Regions from separate parts of the Homo sapiens genome. Here region 1 is linked to region 2. Evidence: promoter capture Hi-C in 16 types of primary human blood cells and fetal thymus (Javierre and others, 2016). All regions are on one chromosome and are shown on one strand. Each heading gives the region's core, a stretch centred on a gene start or on the middle of the fragment in contact. The rest is flanking DNA. Distances are from core to core; before and after follow the strand shown.

Region 1 (5,411 bases), core at 1,935-4,434, 840 kb before region 2:
TATCTTCTTTATCAAATAATTTTCTTTCTGAAATGACTATAAATGCAGGCTATGTTTGCTCATTTTGCAAAAGTACTATATTAGTGAATGGCCTATAAAAGTGAAAAAATTTTAAATTGAACCACATAGTTTAACTAGTGGTCAGCAGGGCCAAATAATCTTATAAAAATCTTATTAGAAAAAAAAATTACACAATCAGCTTTATGGTACAAACCAGGCAACAGAAAACCGATTTCAAAAATAATCCTCAGATGTTTAATAATGCATATTTTTACAACATGACTTTCAGCTGTTGTTTCACCTCCTAGCTAGGCTGAATCTGATTTTAACCATCCTTCTGGCATTGTACATATGCAGGGAGCAAATGCAATCTATTGAAGCAAAGCAGTGTGTGCAAAAGGGCTCAATTAAATGGTGGAATGTTTCTTGTAAATTAAAGCCCTATTGAATAATCATCTTCCATGCAAATTATCTTTCTTAGGGTGTTCCAACAATGTGCCATCATCGTATGTAGCTGCTTTAATATATGCTTATTTGTAATGCTTGACATAATGAATTCTCCCTCTTTATTCCCTTAGAAATAGAATGAGAATTTAAGCTTTTTAATTTTTCCTTTCTAGACTGCCTTTGTGAATACACCAGTAAGACACTATTTTTTCATAACCTACGGTGCAGAAGAATGATTTAACTAGATGCATACTAGTAGTGTATTTATCTGAAAAAGCAAGTTAAATGGATTTCTGATGGAAAAATAGCATGTTAATCTCTCCTCTCTCAAAAAAGTAAATTTTCCCTGGAAGCTCCGAAGCTCAGTCTCCTAATCCTTTTCAAGCCTTTAAGGTTTCTATTCTTAAAAGAAAGTCATATGCTAAAATGTAAATACACAAAACAGAGATTGTTTGCATAGTCCACCAAGAGTCCACATATTTCCTAAAATGTATACAAAATTATAGGTTGTATATATAGATATGTATTTAATAAGAAAGGAGTCCAAAGATTTTATCCAATTCTCAAAGGGGTCAAAAACCCACAAAAATATTTAGAATTACCACATAAGGCTAAAAGATAGAATCTCACTTATAATCTCAGCACTTCGGGAGGCTGAGGCAGGAGGACTGCTTGAGCCCAGGAAGTCAAGACCAGCCTAGGAAATATAGTGAAACCTCATCTCTCAAAAAAAAGAAAGAAAGAGAAAGAAAAAGAAAGAAAGAAAGAAAGAGAGAGAGAGAAAGAAAAACAGATACAGCATTTTAGGGTTATACTTTGATCTTATAGGTATAGATGTTTGATTGATGTCACACAAAACAAAAATTCCCATTCGAAAGAATCAAACTGGCCAGGCACAGTGAGTCGCTCAGGGCCTGTAATCCCAGCACTTTGGGAGTCCAAGTCAAGAGGATCACTTGAGGCCAGGAATTCAAAACCAGCCTGAGCAATATTGTGAGGCCCTATCTCTATAAAAAAATAAAAAATTAACCAGATATAGTGGCACATGCCTATAATGGTAGCTACTCAGGAGACTAAGGCAAAAGAATAACTTGAGCCCAGGAGTTCAAGGTTACAGTGAGCAGTGATCACACCACTGCACTCCACCCTGGATTAGACTGAAAACTTGTCTCTTAAAAAGAAACAAAAACAAAAAACAAAACCTAAAATACTCAGTCAGTTCCACACATCTTTTCTAAACATTCTTATATGCATATGATATATCAACCTAAGCCCTGAAAAGAGTGACTAGCAAAGGATACAGGGGCTATTTGAGAGTCATATGCCACCCCTTGGACCAGAGCTTAGTGCATCAGCAGGGAGTTGGGAAAGAAAGGCAAATTCAGTGTCACAATTTCATGCTTTATCAGGGTCTCTGTAAATGTATGGCCTCCTTCCCTCTACCCACAAATACTTCTAAAAGTCCTTAGCTTAACTATTAACTAAATCATAAATATTGAAGCACTTAAAAAATTTTTCTCAGAGGTCTAATGTAATGGCCTAGAAATATTCCAAGTGACCTTCAAGTTGAATTAAATACCACAATTGCTACAATAGCAATGACCACTGAGTATGTAAGTACCTGGGTCCTGTTATGAACTCACTACCAAAACTACCACACTTCTAGTTAAGCACAATCTCAGGTTCTATTCAGAATTAATGTGCCCACAGAAACCCTAAATCACAACCCATGATCCGGCAAAAAAAGGCAAAAACTTTCTAATAAAGCTAGTGTGGCAGAAACACTGCAGACTCTATCTGCATTTATCCAGCTGTGTTTACAAGAAAAAAAAAAAAGCAGTAGCTTGAGCAAGCAAAAACTTCTGAAATTTTAATACTAAAGAAAATAATATCAGCACTGCAAAAAGAGGCCATATTTTTCCCAGTAAAAAAAGTAACGGAACCTTGTGCAACCCCCAAGTACCCAGGTAGTCACAAACATGTATAAACACGTAACACATCAGGACACACTACACATATAAAATTATCCTTAATTACCATGAAGAAAAAACATTCTAACATTTGTTTTTTGTTTTGTTTTGTTTTGAAACAGAGTCTCGCTCTGTCACCCAGGCTAGAGTGTAGTGGCGTGATCTCGGCTCACTGCAAGCTCTGCCTCCCAGGTTCATGCCATTCTCCTGTCTCAGCCTCCCGAGAAGCTGGGACTACAGGCGCCCGCCAACACGCCCAGCTAATTTTTTGTATTTTTAGTAGAGACGGGGTTTCACCGTGTTAGCCAGAATGGTCTCGATCTCCTGACCTTGTGATCCGCCTGCTTCGGCCTCCCAAAGTGCTGGGATTACAGGTGTGAGCCACCGCGCCTGGCCTCTAACATTTGTTTTTACAAATTGCCACAGTACTCTATAAATTTCATTTTTCTCCATACTTCAGATTTTACCAAAAGCTTTACCCTATAGTTCAAAAATTACTTTATAGAAACACAATTTGTTCATTCTTAATTATATCCATTATATGAGTTCAGCGGTCTTCTGTCTCTTTGATACTAAGGGACACTCAAATGCTAGAATTTGGTGACACATTTCAAAGGAAAGGGATACATACGCATCGTTCTCTGTTTGATCCCCCCTCACTGCTGTTTGTCAGCTTAAGTCGAACTTTTTATTGCCCTGACCTATACACTCACAAAGCAAAGTTCCTGTCTGCTCCAGTAAACAAGCAATCTTTCCTACAGCTGCCTGGATCCCGTGCTTTGCCTTTCATCAGGCATCCTGTCCCACCTTTCATCACCTGACCACTCAGGCCATTTACCTAAATCACAGTATTTCTCTGAATGAAATGAAAGTAAACATCCTTTTCAACAAAATTTGATAACCATCTGTGAGGTGCTACAACAACATACAATTTGAAACCACTATGCTAATTAAAGTTATTAGTTTTAAAATGTTCTTAATAAATTACTACATTGCCTGCAAAGTCAAAATAGAGACATATAGACTTCACACCATACAATTCAAGGATTTGTTAAGCTTAATTTTCTTTGCTATCTAGCGTTCAAATATACTCTCTTCTAGATATTTAAGCCTCAGTAATAATATAACCTATGTGCCTGGCACTCTACTCACACGAATTTACCTAATCCTCACGACAACCCCATGGGCTATATACTTAGTATTATACTCATTTTATAAACGCGGAAACTAAAGCACTGAGAAGTTATGTACTAATAAGGGCCAGAAACAGGATTCAAAGCCAGGCAGTCTGAGTCCAAAGTCTAGTCTTAACCAGGGTGCTAGCCTAAAGAACTCATTATTGGAAGAATAAAATCAGGTCATTTTCAGTAACATGGATGAAACTGGAAGTCATTATCTTAAGTGAAATAAAGCCAGGCACAAAAAAACAAGTATCACATATTCTTATACATGGAAGCTAAAAAACTTGACCACATGGAGGTAGAGAATGGAAAGACAGATAACAGAGACTGGGAAAGTTGAGTGAGGGGACCAAGGGGAGGATGAAGATAACCGATTTAAAGGGTACACATAGAGTAAGATAGAAGGAATAAATTCAACGTTAGATGGCAGAGTAGGGTGACTATCTTCAACAAAAATGTATTGTACTCCAGCAATAGACATGCTAAATACCCTGACTTGATCACTACGCATTATACACATGTTAACAAAATTTTACATGTACCTCATAAATTTGTATAAATAAAAAATGTATATACATCTACACATATATACATATAGACACACATACATACATAAAAAACTTCATTATTGGCATCATATTTGCTATAGTGGTTTTGGCACTGAGAAAATTTGGACAAAACAGACTCAGATTTCATCATTTTCAAAGATTTTCTTGTCATAATCTTATCTTTATGATAAGATTAGGTAAATTATGAATCACAAAAATCACTCCAGTGCTGGATAACCTCAGATTAAATGGGGATGAAACATACAATGAAAGGAACTAGAAGCCAGAGTTCCTTCACTCCTCCAGATCATTTCCCCATCTGTAAAATAAGGGGATTAAAAATAGTTAATCTTGGCAGGGCATGGTGGCTCACGCCTGCAATTCCAGCACTTCGGGAGGCCGAGGCCGGTGGATCACTTGAGGTCAGGAATTCGAGACCCGCCTGGCCAACATGGCGAAATCCCGTCTCTACTCAAAATACAAAAATTAGCTGGGGGTAGTGTGGCACGCACCTGTAATTCCAGCTACTCGGGAGGCTGAGGCATGAGAATTGCTTAAGCCCAGGAGGTGGAGGTTGCCGTGAGCCGAGATCGCACCACTGCACTCCAGCCTGGGTGATTGAGTGAGACTCTGTCTCCAAAAAAAAAAAAAAAGATAATCTCTACAGTTCCTTCTGGTTCAAACCCTGAAAGATTAATACATAATTAAAAAACCAACAACTCCTTAGATGATTTAAGACACTGTTGCCCACCATCAATAAAGCCAGGTTACAATCAACTTGAGAAAGATCTAAAGTACTTGATTTCTAAGGTATTAAAAGACAGAAATATGCAAAATACTTCGTTTTTAATTATGCTTATTATAAAATATAGCCAAATTATAGAAAGCATGGCAAATATATATATATATATATATAATTTATAACCCCAGCACATTAACACTGTTAGCATTTTAGGGTATTTCCTTCCAATCTTTTCCTTATGCATAGCTTTGCATGACAGTCATGATCAGGGAAGGAGGGAAAATGGAAGGGAGAAAAATCATTCTATTTCCTACTTGAACAATTTTTAATAGGGATTTTTCATTTTGCCAGAAGGTTCTACATGATCTACCCTACCCACTACCACCAGCATTATCTGTCCAAACTCTTGCAACTCTTTTTCCTTGCAGCTCTCCCCTCCTTCACTCTAGCGGAGCCCTTGACCTTTTTTTTTTTTTTTTTTTTGAGACAGGGTCTCGCTCTGTTGCCCAGGCTGGAGTACAGT
Region 2 (5,498 bases), core at 568-3,067:
GGCCAGACCTTCACACGCCTTGCCCTCCGGCCCCACCTCCACCTTTCTGGCATACCTCCCCTGCTAACTTACTCCTCTTTCAACTACCGTTCACCTTCAGCACTCACATTCCAGGATGGTAAAGATTGCTGCAGGAAAAAAAAAAAATCACAAATATGACCAGCAGTCTCCCTTGTCACAGCAGCTGGGTCTTCAGTCACAGCGCATCTGCGTGCCTGCTCAGGGGCCACTCCCTTAGTCCCCTTTCCTCTGCCTTAGAAGAAAACCTGGCCTCCTATTTCACAAAGAAAAGTGTCACCATACAAGTTTAGCCCATATCTAGAAACTTATCTTTACACACACCCTTACCTTCTTTCTTCCTGTCTCAGAAGCTGTGCCACCAATCCCCCACCCCCCCGTAGCCCTGTCTCCTCTACCAGCAATTGGCTTCCATTTGTTTCTTCCCTGGAACCTAAAAATATAATTTGTTACTTCCTCTCAACCCTAAAACATGGCTTTTCATTTCCTAAGTTAAAAAAACACGTTATTTCCTCTTTAAAACTAGGTTTCTTTAAAAAGAAAAAACGTCTGCCTACCCTATGACAGTCCAGATTCTGCTTTTACTAACACATAAGCCACCAGACCTCTGCATTCCACAGCCCTCTCTCCCTTTACCCTGTTTATTATCTTCACTCCACTTAGTACATGAAGCGATGCTATGTATCCGTTAAGTTGCTGTTTACCTTCCCCTCCAGAACCACCCTATTCCCTGTAGCAGTGCCAGGCACACAGCAAAGGAGAAACTGAGGCACAGGGACTATCCTGGTTGTGTTCCTTCTTACAGATCTTCTGCAAATAATGCTGCACTCGTAGCTAAACACAGCTCTACAACAGACGCCTTTTAGCCAACTGACTAAACGCTGGACATGTTGACTGAGCCCCCAGTTTTTGGAAATCCCTACTTCCTTGCTCGGAAACCTTGCTGTCTCTTATTTCCTCTTCTCTAGGCCTTGCTCGGAAACCTTGCTGTCTCTTATTTCCTCTTCTCTCGGCCACCGGCCATCGGTGTGGCTGGTCCCCGGGTCCCAGGCTCTGAGCTCTGCTCTTCATAGAAGAGGCTTTTTCGCCCCAATGCACTTGAATGACCTCTTTCAGCCCTGGGCGCTGAGCTTCAGGCCATGAGGACAAATACCTCCCGGATGACTCCCCGGAGTCCCCAGGTCCGCAGCCGAACTCATCATTTCCCCAAACCTGTTCCCCCTCCTCTCTACCTCGGCGGGTGGCAGCGCCGTCCACCCTGTCACGACGACAGAAACCCGAGCATCCTGGCTCTCCTCCCTCTCGCTCTCATCCTACCAATCCATCACCAATTCGCCGCCCTGCGGTGGCCTCCCCAGCCCTGGGTCCACCCTCCCGGCCCGCGCGTCGCCGGCATCCCTTGCGCCCTCCGAGGAACTGACCACGGCCGCCTTCTGGAGTGGGCGCACCCCCAGGGACCGGGACCGACCACGACCGCGGGGCCCCCCAGGCGCGGCTTCCTCCCGTCAGGCCCGGGCCCCCGGCTTGCCCCGCGCCCTCCCTCACCGCGGACCCCACCGCCCCCGCGCCCCGCCGAGGCCTCGCCGCCGCCACCGAGTCCCCCGCTGGCGCCCGGTCCGGGCCGCCGGCCTCCTCTTCTCACGCCCCGCGGGCGGAAGGACCGGAGCGTGGGTACCCGGGGCCCGCACCTTGATCCTCTCCACGCCAGCCTCCAACTTGAGCTGCTCTACCAAGCGCTGCAGGGCGCTCGCGCTAGCCCCGGAGGACATGGCGGCGGCGCTGGGCTCCTAGGGGCTGCTGGGCCCGGCCGGGCGGGGAGGAGCCGCCAGCCCCGAGCGCGGGTGCCGCCCCGGGGCGGGGAAGCAGCTGCGCCCGCCCCGCCGCCCCAGCCCACCCGGCGCGGAGCCGCTTGCCAGAGACAGCGGGGACCCCAGCGAGCTGGCAGTGCTCTCCGCTCCTCAGCGCCTGAAACCTGGGTGGCACCTGCAGCTGGGCCTGGAACCGAGGCGGGGACCCGCAGAGCGCGGCGTCCTCCAGCGAAGCTGGCGCCCCTAGGATGAGCAGGAATCGCGAGGGCGTGGGACGCGAGGATGGAGTGGGCGGCAGCAAACACGCACCCCTGAGAAATGAGAACTGGAGCCAAGGTGTGACATGAGTTGGAGAGATAAGGGGCCTTGCCAGACAGTATCACCGGGGAACCAAGGAGAGTTCATAGGATTTTCATGAGGCAGCAACAGGTTTCTAAATGACCCTGTTACTGTTTCACGGAGATCCTACCAGTTGATTTGGTGGAGTATGGTAAATTGGATAAAATCCCAGACCCTGACATCTTTGTGAAACATACAGAATAAAATTAAATTCAGCGTTTCTCACTCTCATCTCACCATTTAACTGTCATCATTGTTTCTATTCTGCTGCTTTTTTTTTTTTTTTTTTTTTTTTTGAGACAGGGTCTTGCTCTGTCACCCGGGGTGGAGTGCAGTGGCGTGATCACAGCTCCTTGTAGCCTCCACCTCGTGGGCTCAGGTGATCCTCCTGCCTCAGCCTCCTGAGTAGCTGGGACTACAGACACACACCACCACGCCCGGCTAATTTTTGTATTTTTAGTAGAGACGGGGTTTCACGATGTTGGCCAGGCTGGTGTTGAACTCCTGGGCTCAGGTGATCCTCCCACCTCAGCCTCCCAAAGTGCTGGCATTATAGGCCTACTGCATTTTTTAATAAGTGTTTTACAAAACTGGGATCGTTACTATATTTAAAATTTTTGTGTTGCTTTTTTCCATGTATCATTAATACGTCATTATTCTTGTACACCATTGTATTTGTCAGAACTCACTTAAACTGAATATTGCAAAAGGTAATATATTGGCTTGTGTAACTGAAAAGTCCAGGGACTTTAAACTAGTGAATTCAATTACCCAAATAATAATTTTGGGGCTCTCATCCTCCTTGTTTTGATTCTGCTTTTCCTGAGATTAGCCTCATTTTCCTTGGTGGTAGATGGACTTCTCTAGTGGTATGAAGGAAGGCACCACACTTTCACTGTCCCCATCTAGCAAACCCAGGAAAAATAGTACCTCTTTTCTTTCTAATCGTTCCAGCAAAAATCCCCATAATGAACCTCACTGGCTGGTATTAAGTCATGGGCCCACCCCTGGCCCAATTACTCTTTGAAGGCAAGGATGTGTGGCATTGACGTGCTCAGATTAGCTGTGCCTGGGCCAAAGGGAGACTTGCACATTTGAAAGCCCTCTCTAGTGGCCAATTTCCTCACCACAAAGAAATTAATATATATCTTAGTAAAGAGATGAAAGTACATGTTGGGAACATTCAACAATCAATTCTGAGACTGATGAATAGGACAAAATAGAATGATTTCATATTTAAAAGATATGGCAAAGAACTCAGTGCAAAGATATACATACTGGATTAGGAAAGGCTCATCATAGATCGTGAGAGCTGGACTTTGGAGATACGTGTCTTGCAGATGGCTCAGAAGGAAGAACAGTCCAGTATGGAGGACAGCTGGAGGCGATGCACACATGTAGAGTGAATAAATTTAAAAATAGAGGAAGCTCTAGTGACTAATAGCAGATACAAAGTTGCTAGGGCCAGAAGTCATAGAAAACCTCACATACACACAAAAGTTTATGGTAAACAGTGGGATAGCCACAGGGTAAGGCATTTTGGGAATATTAATCTGAGATGAATGTGCAAAATGAACTGAAGTTGAGAAGATAAATGGCTGATGGTGGGGGAGTAGCTGGAATGAGGCCCTGGGTAGGACTGTTAGAGTAGGAATGAGGGGGAACAAATTTAGAAGACAAAATCAGTGGTACTTCATGGTGGTTATGAAATGCAAAGAAAAGAGGACAAAGGGTTCTGTAGCAGAGAGTGGGCCAGAACTAATGCCAAAACAGAAATTAGGAAACAAGACTTGGCTTGAGATGAGTAAAAAATAATGTGGGGTTTGGTTTAGGAGTAACGAAGTGACTTCCATGGCATTGCTACATGCCTTTAGGCTGCTGAAAATGTTTAGTAGCCAAGATGTTAATGTGAAGATGTCTCCACAGCAATGGCAGCTGAAATAATGAGATTACCTCAAAATCATTAGAAATGAAGGCTTTGGAGTTGCCCTCAATGAAGGGACACACGTCAGCCATGTCATACTGTATCAGCCACGAGGTAGCAGGAAAAGTCTAGGGGTGTGCTGTGTCTGCCTCCTTCATGCCCTACACACCCACTGCCCCGCCCACCTCAGTGTTACTTTGCACCGTTCAAGAGGAATGGTCTGTGATCCATGGATAAGCAGGCCGGGCGCCACTTGTACTTGAGGAAGGCTGACCATCTGTGTGATGCTCCACACTTTCCCCACAAGACTTCTCATCCATTATTTTTGCATCATGGAACTTCAAAGTTGAAGGGAACCATCAGATAGTGCGGCGCATCTACAATTTCAGAGATGAGGAAACAGATCCACTAAGGAAAGTGAAGTGACTTGCCCAGTATCACAGAAAGTGGGAGCAGGGAAAAGAATTTCATTTTAGCTTTCAAGAGAATTCAGGCCAGACGCGGTGGCTCACACCTGTAATCCCAGCACTTTGGGAGGCCAAGGCGGGCAGATCACTTGAGGTCAGGAGTTCAAGACAAGTCTGGCCAACATGGTGAAACCCCGTCTCTTCGGGGTTTCTACCACGCCTGGCTAATTTAAAATACAAAAATTAGCCGGGCGTGCTGGCATATGCCTGTAGTCCCAGATTCCTGGGAGGCTGAGGCACAAGTATCGCTTGAACCCGGGAGGTGGGGGTTGCAGTGAGACTGCGCCACTGCACTCCTGCCTGGGCGACAGAACAAGACTCCGTCTCAAACAAAGAACTCAAGGTTTACCTAGAGGACCAGAGGCCTTTCCCACATGTGCTGTGATTTCCAGAGCTCTGGAAGGTGAGGGATGGAGACAGAGTACCCTTCTTTCCTTCTCACTACAGCTAAAATGCATGGGTAACCAGTAGAATATCTTTCAAATTTTGTCACACATTTTTTTCCCTGGTTAAGCACAAACTTATCTCATTTCCAAGAAACTTTCTAGAAATGTCATTACCCTTGTAATGACAAATGTTTCATTTGTTTCCCTGTTAGGAGCTACAGTTCTTCACTCCTCTGACTTGTATTTTATCACCTGTCTACTAACAGTGGATTATTCTTCCAGGAAAGGGGTTTGTGAGTCAATCTTCTCCATAAAAATAATGACATAATGGGAAGATATTTCTGCCAATGTTATATCAAAATGACAATAATATATACCATCTATAGTTTCCAAAATGATTAAGAGTAGGAAAACACATTAATAACTATATCTAATGTGACACAGTATCATGTACTATAAAAATTATTTTACTTCTTTTTGCCTATTACATTATTTTTAGAACCCAGAAATAATGAATCAGGAGCTGAAAGAATCACCAGCAGGTTTGTAGATTCAG

The links. Contacts are between HindIII fragments. The CHiCAGO score rates a contact against its expected background, and 5 or more counts as called.
Region 1: a contact is called between a fragment that was not itself captured here and the fragment with the promoter of GNG10 in region 2, in 1 of 17 cell types (total B cells). The highest score is 5.3, in total B cells.

The regions. Positions count from the first base shown.
Region 1 is chr9:112,503,577-112,508,987 of GRCh38, reverse strand. The region is part of intron 1 of KIAA1958; the gene reads right to left. Among named protein-coding and RNA genes, the nearest start is that of HSDL2-AS1, 19 kb to the right of the region's middle. The HindIII fragment of the contact is 583 bases long and covers 2,893-3,475 here.
Region 2 is chr9:111,657,924-111,663,421 of GRCh38, reverse strand. It overlaps GNG10 (G protein subunit gamma 10), which reads right to left and starts at 1,817. Exons shown (of 3, transcript NM_001017998.4): 1 at 1,707-1,817. The coding sequence starts at 1,787. All of the region lies in intron 1 of DNAJC25-GNG10 (DNAJC25-GNG10 readthrough), which reads right to left. RefSeq lists enhancers at 757-806, 1,007-1,106, 2,177-2,236 and silencers at 1,397-1,516, 1,547-1,996. The HindIII fragment of the contact is 12,879 bases long and covers 1-5,498 here.